Linked DNA regions of Homo sapiens: regions 1, 2 and 4 are each linked to region 3. Evidence: promoter capture Hi-C in 16 types of primary human blood cells and fetal thymus (Javierre and others, 2016). All regions are on one chromosome and are shown on one strand. Each heading gives the region's core, a stretch centred on a gene start or on the middle of the fragment in contact. The rest is flanking DNA. Distances are from core to core; before and after follow the strand shown. Region 1 has its middle 3.9 kb from the start of TMTC2. Region 2 has its middle 12 kb from the start of UBE2N. Region 3 holds the start of RLIG1 (RNA 5'-phosphate and 3'-OH ligase 1). Region 4 holds the start of NUDT4 (nudix hydrolase 4).

What was found. Contacts are between HindIII fragments. The CHiCAGO score rates a contact against its expected background, and 5 or more counts as called.
Region 1: a contact is called between a fragment that was not itself captured here and the fragment with the promoter of RLIG1 in region 3, in 2 of 17 cell types (naive CD8 T cells and total CD8 T cells). The highest score is 9.4, in naive CD8 T cells.
Region 2: a contact is called between a fragment that was not itself captured here and the fragment with the promoter of RLIG1 in region 3, in 1 of 17 cell types (non-activated CD4 T cells). The highest score is 5.1, in non-activated CD4 T cells.
Region 4: a contact is called between the fragment with the promoter of NUDT4 here and the fragment with the promoter of RLIG1 in region 3, in 2 of 17 cell types (non-activated CD4 T cells and activated CD4 T cells). The highest score is 6.3, in non-activated CD4 T cells.

What each region holds. Positions count from the first base shown.
Region 1 is chr12:82,681,539-82,684,378 of GRCh38, reverse strand. No RefSeq gene overlaps it. Among named protein-coding and RNA genes, the nearest start is that of TMTC2, 3.9 kb to the left of the region's middle. The HindIII fragment of the contact is 2,534 bases long and covers 265-2,798 here.
Region 2 is chr12:93,452,600-93,455,382 of GRCh38, reverse strand. No RefSeq gene overlaps it. Among named protein-coding and RNA genes, the nearest start is that of UBE2N, 12 kb to the right of the region's middle. The HindIII fragment of the contact is 9,169 bases long and covers 1-2,783 here.
Region 3 is chr12:88,034,258-88,036,957 of GRCh38, reverse strand. RLIG1 (RNA 5'-phosphate and 3'-OH ligase 1) reads right to left here and starts at 1,422. Exons shown (of 7, transcript NM_001009894.3): 1 at 1,220-1,422. The coding sequence starts at 1,309. LOC107984542 (a long non-coding RNA gene) reads left to right here and starts at 1,462. Exons shown (of 3, transcript XR_007063395.1): 1 at 1,462-1,544; 2 at 2,611-2,700. The HindIII fragment of the contact is 2,128 bases long and covers 868-2,700 here.
Region 4 is chr12:93,376,530-93,379,229 of GRCh38, reverse strand. It overlaps NUDT4 (nudix hydrolase 4), which reads right to left and starts at 1,305. Exons shown (of 5, transcript NM_019094.6): 1 at 809-1,305. The coding sequence starts at 907. It overlaps LOC643339 (a long non-coding RNA gene), which reads left to right and starts at 1,494. Exons shown (of 5, transcript NR_040096.1): 1 at 1,494-1,793. RefSeq lists silencers at 674-973, 1,194-1,533 and an enhancer at 770-1,709. The HindIII fragment of the contact is 6,665 bases long and covers 1-2,700 here.

The DNA.
Region 1 (2,840 bases), core at 282-2,781, 5.4 Mb after region 3:
AAATAAATGTGCTTAGGAGAAACTACGTAACAGCTGGAAAATCCAAAAATTTTCATCGCTGATTTATTGTTTGTCGTTAGTGTTAAAGATCGTGAAGTATTAACCAAGGAGAGAGGAAGGGAGCAGGTTCACAGTTTTTCAGAATACATCAAGTCTGCAGGAATACCCGTGAAGGGGAGTCACATGGACAGGTCTCTTCAGTTATTAAGAGGACTCAGATATGTAAAAATATTAGAGAGCTTTGGGTTCCACATGCTAAAAGCTTGTAAGCCTTTTCCACAGCTGTGTTCATTTTTAAGGCTCCAATAGTTTAATTTAATTTTTAATTTTTTTTTTTTTTTGAAACAGAATCTCACTCTGTCGCCCAAGCTGGAGTGCAGTGGCCCGATCTTGGCTCACTACAACCTCTGCCTCCCGGGCTCAAGCGATTCTCCTGCCTCAGCATCCCCAGTAGCTGGGATTGTAGGTGTGTGCCATCAAGCCCGACTAATTTTTGTATTTTTAATAGAGACGGGGGTTTTACCATGTTGCCCACGCTGGTCTTGAACTCCTGACCTCAAGTTATCCACTTGCCTTGGCCTCCCAAAGTGCTGGGATTATAGGCATGAGCCACTGCGCCCAGCCATGGCTCCAATAGTTTTAAATAAATTTTATACACTCCTCCATCTCCTCGTTTTCTCCTTTCCCCACCTCCCAATACCTCTGAATTGGAAGCCTAGGTGACTGGGAGATGGGCTGTAAAATGGCACATCTTGCCTTCCCTGATAAACAGAAGGCTGAAAACCTAGCTGTGTTTGAGAAATCCAGTTGCTTTTAACAAATTTTTCTATTATAATTTAATGTAGGTTTCAATATCCTTCCAGAGCATTAAGCCATGGTCTCTTTTAGATTGCTCTCCAAGGGCTGAGAAGCAGCCAATTCCTGAATTTTCTACCTTCCTGGAACAACTTTAGGAGGAAAATCAGATTAAAGATGTCATCATTATTGTTGGAGATCATTTAAAATCTGAGGACATAGGTTTTTAGTTTATCAAGGTGTACTTATTTGATGTAAGGTTGCAGCATCAGTTCTGAATATGTGTATGTTCTATTTAAAGCGACAGTTGCTCTCCACAGGTGAAGGAAATTAGGATGGCTGGCTTGAATTTTCTACCTTAGACACAATACTGGCCAAAAAAGCGCTAAGCCCTTATTTTCCTGAAGTAGGCTCCACACATCTGCTACCTCACCACTTCCTCAATGAATTCCTTTTTATAGTAGCCCCGACCTACCCTGCATTTGTTCTGCATTCTCAGTCCTTTGTTGTATAATTCATACCTTTGCAGTGCCAGTTCCTCAGGGTAAAGATTTCCTTATTTGCCTAAGACATTTTTAGTTTATTGTGCAATACTATCTTCCCTTTGGGTGTTGCATAAATATTAACTAAAGATCCACATCTGGTCCTGGTCGTCATTTCTATTTGTCCTAATATAACTTCTCTTTGAACAATTCATTTGGAAAGTGTGCCAAGGGTGAAATGTGGCACGTAAATTCTCTTGCTGCACAGAATGCTTTTTAAAGTGCCCACAGATTTGGTTATTTATGAGCAGGAGATTTGCGCCTCTTCCTTGCTCTCTCAATTCTAAAATTGTACTGGGCCAAAATAATTACAATCTTCCATATGTTTTCTGAAAAGGTATCCAAGTATCTCCTGCTAAAATTTTAACAGATTGACTAAGAAGCAGAAAAACACTAGCCCAGCAGGTGAAACTGCCTGTTTAGGGAGGTCAGAACAGAGCTCTCTGCTGGGGGACTCATAAGCTCTGGGATTTACTCAGGAAATAACCCTGCAGGAGAAAAACAGCAGAGCATGGATGAAATGTGGGTCAGGGAGCTGAGACAGGCACATGGGCGGCTTGGTTAACTAATGACTGTAAATGCATTGGCAACACATGTTACATTTAGATTCTTCCCAGCATACCATAAAGTGCTGCCCTGCAGACACTACAATGTATAACATCACTTTATCCCAAGACTTGTGATCCATTAGGAATAGAAGTAGAACAAGGCAGCCACGGAAACAGATCTTGTCACCTGTGTCTCAAAACAGGGACTGTTAAGAACCAGCTGCTAGCAAAATAATGATCACTTTAAGAATCTCACAGTCTCCCCAGCTTCCAAGTCTGAGAATGTGGGGGTGAGGGAGGAGACAAGGAGGAGGAGGAGTATAGAAATAACATGTTAATAACCAGATATGAATAATTGCAGAGATGTTGAGGCTAATGATAGAATTCAAAAACTCAATCAAGAAAAGCAAGGACAGCCTCCTTTATAGAATCTCTCTGAATGCATTCACATGCACTGATATAAACAGTGATCAAGAATGCTCTAACAGCTTGAAAAATTGCACCATCAGGAAACAAATTTTGATAAGCCTCAGATTCTTTAAGGAAAATTAATTTTGACGTGGACATTAGTTAAATTCACCAGCTATTCATGAATGTTGCCTTGATGTTTAACCCATATGAAACTTTTAAGCCAGTGTTGTCCAGCAGAACTTGCTGCAGAGGTGATTTTCTGTTGCACTGTTCATTAGTTATATGTGGCCATTGAGCAATTGAAATGTGGCTACTGTGACTGAGGAACTGCATTTTTAATTTTGTTTAATTTCAATTAATTTAAATTTAGTGACATGTGGCTAGTGGCTAATTTATTAGACAGAATAGCGTAAGCTGTCGGCTGACCAACACCACTTGTGTTTTACGGTGGATTTCATGTAAAAGCCAGTTAGTTGTCAACATCCTCCCACAGGTCAAAGCTTTAGCCCTGAATCATTTGATGTGAACTTCTGTGCTCCCCATG
Region 2 (2,783 bases), core at 30-2,529, 5.4 Mb before region 3:
GGAACAGAAAACCAAACACCTCATGTTCTCACTCATAAGTGGGAGCTGGACATTGAGAACACATGGACACAGAGAGGGGAACATCACACACCGGGGCCTGTCGGGGGTGGGGGGCAAGGGGAGGGAGAGCATTAGGAAAAATACCTAATGCATGTGGGGTTTAAAACCCAGATGACCAGTTGATAGGTGCTGCAAACCACCACGGCACATGTATTCCTATGTAACAAACCTGCGCGTTCTACACATATATACCAGAACTTAAATTAAAAAAAAAAAAGAATAATAAGAACTATAAATCAAACTTGAAGACTTGAGGAAAAACTACACTTTACTGTTACTTCAATCAATTTAATGTTAATTTTTTAAAAATCTGTAAATGACCAGGCATGGTGGCTCACACCTGTAATCCCAGCACTTTGGGAGGCCGAGGCAGGCAGATCACCTGAGGTCAAAAGTTCAAGACCAGCCTGGCCAACATGGTGAAACCCCATCTCTACTAAAAATATAAAAATTAGAGCAGGCACAGTGGCTCATGCCTATAATCCCAGCACTTTGGGAGGCCAAGGGAGGTGGATCATTTGAGGTTGGGAGTTCCAGACCAGCCTGGCCAACATGGTGAAACCCCATCTCTACTAAAAAATACAAAAATCAGCCTGGCATGGTGGCAGGTGCCTGTAATCCCAGCTAGTCAGGAGGCTGAGGCAGGAGAATCGTTTCAAACTGGGAACCTGGGAGGCAGAGGTTGCAGTGAGCCGAGACTGTGCCACTGCACTCCAGCCTGGGTGACAGAGTGAGACCCCCATCTCAAAAAAAAAATTATGTGAATAATCTTGTGCCTCAAAGACAACAAAATACATCAACTCAAAGTTGTTTTTGCCCTCATCTCTCAAAAATCACATCCAAACAACAATGAGAACAAAAATGGAAGCCGACAGAAACTGGAATACCTGACTTGGTAGAGCAAAGTCAAGCATGCAAGTTGCACCAAGGCTCAGGAATTGGTGGCATCAAGTATTTAGGAAGGCAGGAGGGATGAGGGGGCTGAAAAGTGATGGAATATTTGAAAATCAGCATAAAGCACAATTAGACCTCAGACTCCCATATCTAACAGCCTACCCCAGTTGGAAATGGAAATACAAATCCCAAAGATTCTGGATTTAGGAAAGTTATACCTAGAAGAGGGCAGAGGAGAAGAGTCCAATGGAAAACTGGGGAGGTGGCTGGGATGGTGGTTCATGCCTGTAATACCAACACTTTGGAGGTCCAAGCGAGAGGATTGTTTGAGGCCAGGAGTTAGATACTAGCCTGGGTAGCATAGCGAGGTGCCATCTGTACAAAAAGAAAAAGAAAAATTAGCCGGCTGTGGTGGTGCATCTGTAGTCCCAGCTACTCAGGAGGCTGAAGCTGAGGTTGCAGGATTGCTTAAGCCCAGGAGCTTGAGGGTTCAATGAGCTATGATCTTACCACTGCATTCCAGCCTGGGTGACAGAGCAAGAACCTGTCTCCAAACAAAGGAAAAAAAGAAAAAAGAAAACTTGGGAGGAGGAATGCCGGTAAGTTTTTTGAGCCTGGTCTGCAGCCTTTCCTGTGATCGTGTGAACCACCCCATGTCCTCCCAGTGAATTCCTTTTCTGTTTAAGTCAGCCTGAGTCAGTTTCCATGCCTGTAACCAAGAACCCTGACTAACATAATATTTTGCACTTACTCGGTGACAATTCTATTAACATTATGTTTCCATTCCCCGTAAGCCCATAAGGGTAGTTTTTTTTCCTGCAACCTCTGCCTCCCGGGTTCAAGCGATTCTCGTGCCTCAGCCTCCTGAGTAGCTGGGATTACAGGGACGTGGCCAGCTCGTTTTTGTATTTTAAGTAGAGATGGGGTTTCACTCTGTTGGCCAGACTGGTCTTGAACTCCTGACTTAAAGTAATTCACCCGTCTCGGCCTCCCAAGGTGCTGGGATTACAGGTGTGAGCCACCGTGCCTGGCCCCATAAGAGTAGTTCTTCATCTGATTTTGCTCATAATTTTACTTGCAGAGTCTAATATAGTGTCTGGCACTTAGTGGGCGCTAACCAAATAAATGTTTTTGTTTTGTTTTGTTTTTTTGAGACAGAGTCTCACTCTGTCACCTAAGCCAGAGTACAATGGCATGATCTCAGCTTACTGCAACCTCCCCCTCCTGGAGTCAAGCAATTCTCCTGTCTCAGCCTCCTGAGTAGCTGGGATTACAGATGCCTGCCACCACGCCTGACTAATTTTTGTATTTTTAGTAGAAATGGGGTTTCACTATGTTGGTCAGGCTGGTCTCGAACTCCTGAACTTAGGTGATCCACCTGCCTTGGCCTCCCAAAGTGCTGGGGTTACAGGTGTGAGCCACCGAGCCTGGGATAAATGTTGGATGGATGAAGAAGCCTTCTCTCTGTCTTCTATATACTCCTCATTGCATCTTCTATATCTCAGTTTAAAAACTTGTCACATCAAATTGTATTAGTTTTTAATGTCTGTTTCCCCTATTAGAATGTAAGCTCAAGCCAGGTGTGGTGGCTCATGCCTGTAATCCCAGCACTTTGGGAGGCTGAGGTGAGTGGATCACCTGAGGTCAGGAGTTTCAGACCAGCCTGACCAACATGGTGCAACCCCATCTCTACTAAAAATACAAAATTAGCCAGGTGTGGTGGCACATGCCTATAATCCCAGCTACTTGGGAGGCTAAGGCAGGAGAATTGCTTGAGCCTGGGAGGCGGAGGTTGCAGTGAGCCGCGATCGCACTATCGCACTCCAGCC
Region 3 (2,700 bases), core at 173-2,672:
AGAATACTTTCACAAACTACTCCCCTCAAACATACGAAGTTGAAAATCACAGTAGAGTGAAATACTAAAACAGATGATAATGTTTCATATGGATTACATTTGTTACAGCTAAAAAAAAAAGCCAATTACTGCTACAAACATTGAGTAATAACTGTGGTATTCTGACGAGGAAAGAACATGGTGATGATCAGTCTGAGTGGCAAGTAAGACCAGTTAGGTGGTGCAATGAGCAGGACATGAAATATTAACTGTAACAGCTGTGACAGCACTAGAAAGCAGGAAAAGATCAGATGCTATAAGGTAAAAAGCATCAAGGTGAATGGAAAACTGGCATGAAATGATTCCAGGGTTCATTCTTTAATTCAACAAATATTTATCCAGTGCCTACCACGTGCCAGGTCCTAGAAGCTGGGACTAAAGATAACAGGGCAATCTTTGCCTTAAACAAGTTTTAGTCCAGAAGACGAGAAAGCCAGTGCCAATGATGAAACTCAAGTGAGGTGGATTTCCAATGGACATGTTGGTTTTGTTTGAAATCAGCAAAGTTGGGAAGCACCCAACTAATCACTGGGGATTCTACTGATCAAAGACTACAACGTTTTATAGTACAATATGAAAAAATTACCCAAATATAGGTTACTCACTAGCATTTACCGAGGGCACACTATGGAAAACACGTTGCTGCAACAGAAAACCTTGAGAACACCAAAGTTAGAATAAATTAAGTAATTACTGGTAATATGAGGTGTGAACTTCAGTGACCTAATTAGGCTACTGTCAACACCGCCACTGGTTCGGACAGAACAGGTAAAGCAAGTCTTCTAATATCCACCCTTTCTTACTGCACTCTTGAAAAGTAGTAAAGCTTGGACTGTGGCAATTACCTGATTAGGGGGTTTCCCCAAAAGGTGCTGACCTGAAAAGGAAGGGACATGCTGTGGATGTGAGTTATCCATTTCCTTGCGAGGACAAGTTTGAATCTCCTGATAAGGAAAATTCTTTCGCAAATTCCCTCCCTCACAACTAAGAAAAGTACAAGAACCTGGAGCTCAGGGCGTACGGAACTCCCACCCCAGACCTCCCCAGGGAAACCTACAGAGGTTCCTGGCCTGCAGGGCAGTTCTAAAGCGCCCAGCCGCCCTCGCCGGGTTCGCACTGAGCCAGCGCCGCGGGGAGGAGCCCACGCGGGCCGCCAAGCCTGCCCGGCGCTCCTCCGTACCTGATGCTCCCTTTTGGAGGAAGGCTCCTCTTTCACCTCCGTCACAAACACACACGGCATTTTCCGCTGCACGGAGCCCAAGCGCTTCATGATGAGCCCAACAAGCAGTGCGAATGGAGGGCGTGCTTTCGAGCGGCGCCCGGTCCAGTCGCGGAGAAGCCCTGAAGCAGTCACCCGCACGGCTCAGGCCACGCACACTCCGCGCCCAGCCACCGCGGCTGCGCCCCAACTACCAAGCCCAGCGAGGGGCGGGAACGCCCGTCCAGAAGCGGCTTCCTGGCCGCGGCGCCTTCTGGGAGTTGTAGTGCAGAAGCTGAGGCGCCTGGTGGGTTCCCACGTGCGTCCTCCGCCCCCCACCCTCGGTTTTAATAACCGTGAAAAAAAAAAAAAAAAGATGCGTTTCCCGAACGTGGGTACTTAGCAATACCTAGTAACTAATGATTTTTTGGGAAATTAAATAAGATCAAATTATAAGCAATGAACATTTCAGATGTCGATTTAACACAGTTCCAATGGAAACTGCTTGCCTGTTATCTTTAGTTCGTGGGGGAAGCACTGTAGAAGTTTAGAAATGGCTAGAGACATCCCCAGATTCCCAAGCAGAATGAAAACTTCCTTTCCGGTAAGACTATCAGAAAACCCTATAATAAAACACCTGGGATCAAAAAAAGTTGTCGTTTGAACTACTCCTTATTGTGCAGCATAGCATGGTCGAAATGATTCTGATGTTCTTTTCGGAGTGAGTGCGAAATTTCAGCCTTAGACTAATCCAAAAGTACAGGAATACCTACAACCAGATTTCATTCTCAAGTTTTTCATAAGAATCTTGTTTAATTAAAGGTGAGCTCCAACAGCCCAAATGGCTTGAGTAATGGTAGTCAATCAACTGCGAGCTAAAAACAGCCTTAACTTACTGCTCAAAAGAATATTTTGAGGGTAAGTGATAAGATGGACAATGACTAAATAAAATAAATACTAAATATTTAGGAATAGTAGCCTTTCCATCTCATTGAATGTAGTAGTTCCTAGCCTGAAGTTGTAGGGGAATTTTGACTTTACTGCCATCCTTTATGGGCTTGGACTAGGCCCAGGTCTCATTTCTTTGTCTTATCTGCATGTACTCAACTGTCCAGCATGTTACTGACTTAGCCCTTGGAAAAATTAAACAACTATATCTCACTTAGAGGTATCTAACTAGTAAGGGGGTTCTCAAAGAATAAAACATCTTCCTTTAAAAAGTTCACAGTTATATTGAATACTGACAGTGAAAAAAAATAAAATTTAAAAAAAGTTCACAGTTTTTTGATTACTGGATTCAGAGGGGAGGGAGGAAGAAAGAGATTTGCCATTTCAAAGTGTTTACTTTCTTTTCTACTATCTTTTTCTCACAGGAAAACACAAAATGTTCTCCCACATCACACCCCGCCTGCATTTATCAAAAAAGAAAACACCTGATGCTGGCTGTGTGCTGTTGGAACCAG
Region 4 (2,700 bases), core at 56-2,555, 5.3 Mb before region 3:
CCCAATGCAGATGGGTAAATTATCCAAGAACGACTGCTCTGAGAACGAGAAAGGCTACTCCTTTCCAGATGTCAAGCCAGACAGCAAAGAACCCTTTATACATAAGCTGAGAGCTGGAGATTACTGTCTGAAAATGGCAGCTTTGCCCATCTCTAGTCCATCGTCTCCCTTTTGGCATTATTCCACATTTTTCACTAACCATTTTTCTGCAGTCAGAAAACTTTAAGAAGGGAAGGCCGTTTTAAAAATGAGGCATAATTATGCCAACAGCTTGCGGGTTCATGGACCCACAAGAATTGCCAAGACTAGACTCAATTCCAAGCACGAGGACTGTCTGTTACTCCACAAACATGCTTAGATCGAATCCGAGACCGCAAACGGCTGTAACATGGAAGGAAAATATGTAAAAGAGGCACAAGGGCTCTGCTGCAACACTCACGCCATTTCCACCCTCCTCTCGCTGAGCACTCGAGGTTTATCCGGCTTTCAACTCAATTCGCACGTTAAGATGGTGACTCCCGCTAGGCGAGACTTACGCGGCCCGGGACCTTCCCGGGGACCAGGCGCCTTCTCGAGTGCCCAGATGGAGAAACTGGGGCTGGGCGAGCCCCCTTTGTCTCATCTATCAGCCCAGAGAAAGGAAGGAAGAAGTGAGGGAGGAAAGGAGTGAGGGAGGAAAGGAGGGAGGGAGGAAGGGGGCTAATCCCTCCCAGCCCCGCAGCCTGCGCAGGGGCGGGGAGCGAGGGGAAGCACCCGGGCCCTAGACCCCGGCGCCCCGGAGGGCAGCGTGCGGCGCCGGGCGCCCTACCTCGTCCTCCTGCTCGCTCCGGAAGCACAGGCACGCCGCCCGCTTCTTGAAGCCCTCGCGGTCGTAGGTCCGCGTCTGGTTGGGCTTGAACTTCATCATAGAGGCGGGCTCCTGCTGCTGCTGCTGCTGCTCCGGCCGCCGCCGTGGGGGCCCGGCCGCCGCCACCCCGCCGGGGAGTGGGGGCGAGGGCGAGTCGGGCGCAGGAGCGCCCGGGAGCGCTAGTCGGTGCGGGAGGTGCGGCGAGGCCGGTCAGTCCCGGGGCCGGCGGCCGCTCCGACGCGGGCGGGACGGGACGCTAGCGCGGGTCACTGGAACCAGGGTGCCGAGATGAAAGCTCCGCCTCTGCCCAGTTGTCCGCCGCTCTCCATGGAGCCCGACTCCCGCTCGCCTCCGCTCCCTCCGGCCGTAGCCGCCAGGGGAAGGGCGGCTAGAGGCGCGCGCCACGCGGAGACAGTTGCGAAGACCCGCTCCCACTGAGCAGCAGCACCGCGGCGACCGCGCGCCGCCCCCTCTGCTCTGTTTAAATGAAGCCCACATGCGCCCCGCCTCCCCCGCGCGCCACTGCGCCTGCGTGCAGAGACCATTGCAATGGGGTGGGTGGGTAGGTGTGGCGGGGGAGGTAGGGGCGGGACCTCGGCCGCCCGGTGGGCGGGGCCGCGCGCACTCCCGGGCTGGAGTTCGGCGAGGCCTTGGGACTGGCGCTGGAGCCCAGCGTGGGATGACCGTGCCCCGAAAACATGCCAGTGAATGGAAAGAAGCCAAGGTCCCCTCCCTCCCTGCTTATACCCTCAACTTTGCCAATGAGGACCCTAAATACCAGCTGCACTACAGGGGATGTAACTACATACACCGTCACCAAAGTTGCAGCCTGGCCAAGAAATGCCAGGGGACGTCGCGGCGATTGCAGACTCCGCGGTGACTGTGTAGATACGTCCAGAATTCGCCCTTGTAGCGCGGGGAGAGGCGAGAGTGAAGGCCTAGAAAAGTTAAGACGTTAACTGTTTTTTTTTTCTTTGTTTTCACAAATGGGGGGTAGGCAAATTTCCTTTTTTTTTTTTTGTATTTAAATTTTTAATCTTTGGTTGGGGATGGCTTGTATTATTTAAAGAGTCAACTCTAGCTTAAACGTTTCTTTGAAGCTGTCTATAACATCCCCCACTTTGTGCCACCTTCCGGAAAGTATTAATACTGGCAATGGCTAATAGTTGCGAAATGGTTTTCATGTGGATCTCATGCTAAGTAACAGCGCAGCTGGATGCTGGGGCCACAGCACTAAAATATAATGGGATTTCTGCTATCTGGGAGCTTACAGTACCTTGGGGACTTGGAACAAACAACCTCTACACTTCAGAGTGTTAGAAGGGCTAAGATAGGAGCCAGGAGGCCTGATCTTAAGGTAGCTCGAGAAACCCAAACTCAGGCCATTCTGCCCTTCCACAGAGGCCCAGGTTGCTTGGGTCCTGACTTGGTTGGTTGGTTTTTCACCCCTTGAGGGCCTATTGTGTGTCAGGCACTGGCATCTAACAAAACCAGTCAGCCCCTGCCTCTCCAGGAGCGTAGGCACCTGAGAGCACACCGTCAAATATTAAATGATCACACGTGTACACGTAAAACTACAAATGTAATGGGCTCTAAGGTTTCAGACAAAGATTTGACCAGATCTGCAGTCAGAAAAAGATTATTGGGGCAGCAAGGCAGGAGCTGAGGGCTGAAGGAGGAGGAGCTAAATTGACCAAGAGCTTTCAAGGCAAAGGGAACTGGGATTTCTGCAGAGCCCAAAGTGGGAGGGAGTGAGGAGAGTTCTCAGAAATGAAAGAAAAGGCCAGTGTGGCTGCAGAGCGGAGGCAAGCTGGTTCCGCCTCTGGCAGAGGGGCCTGTGAGGCCTGACTGAG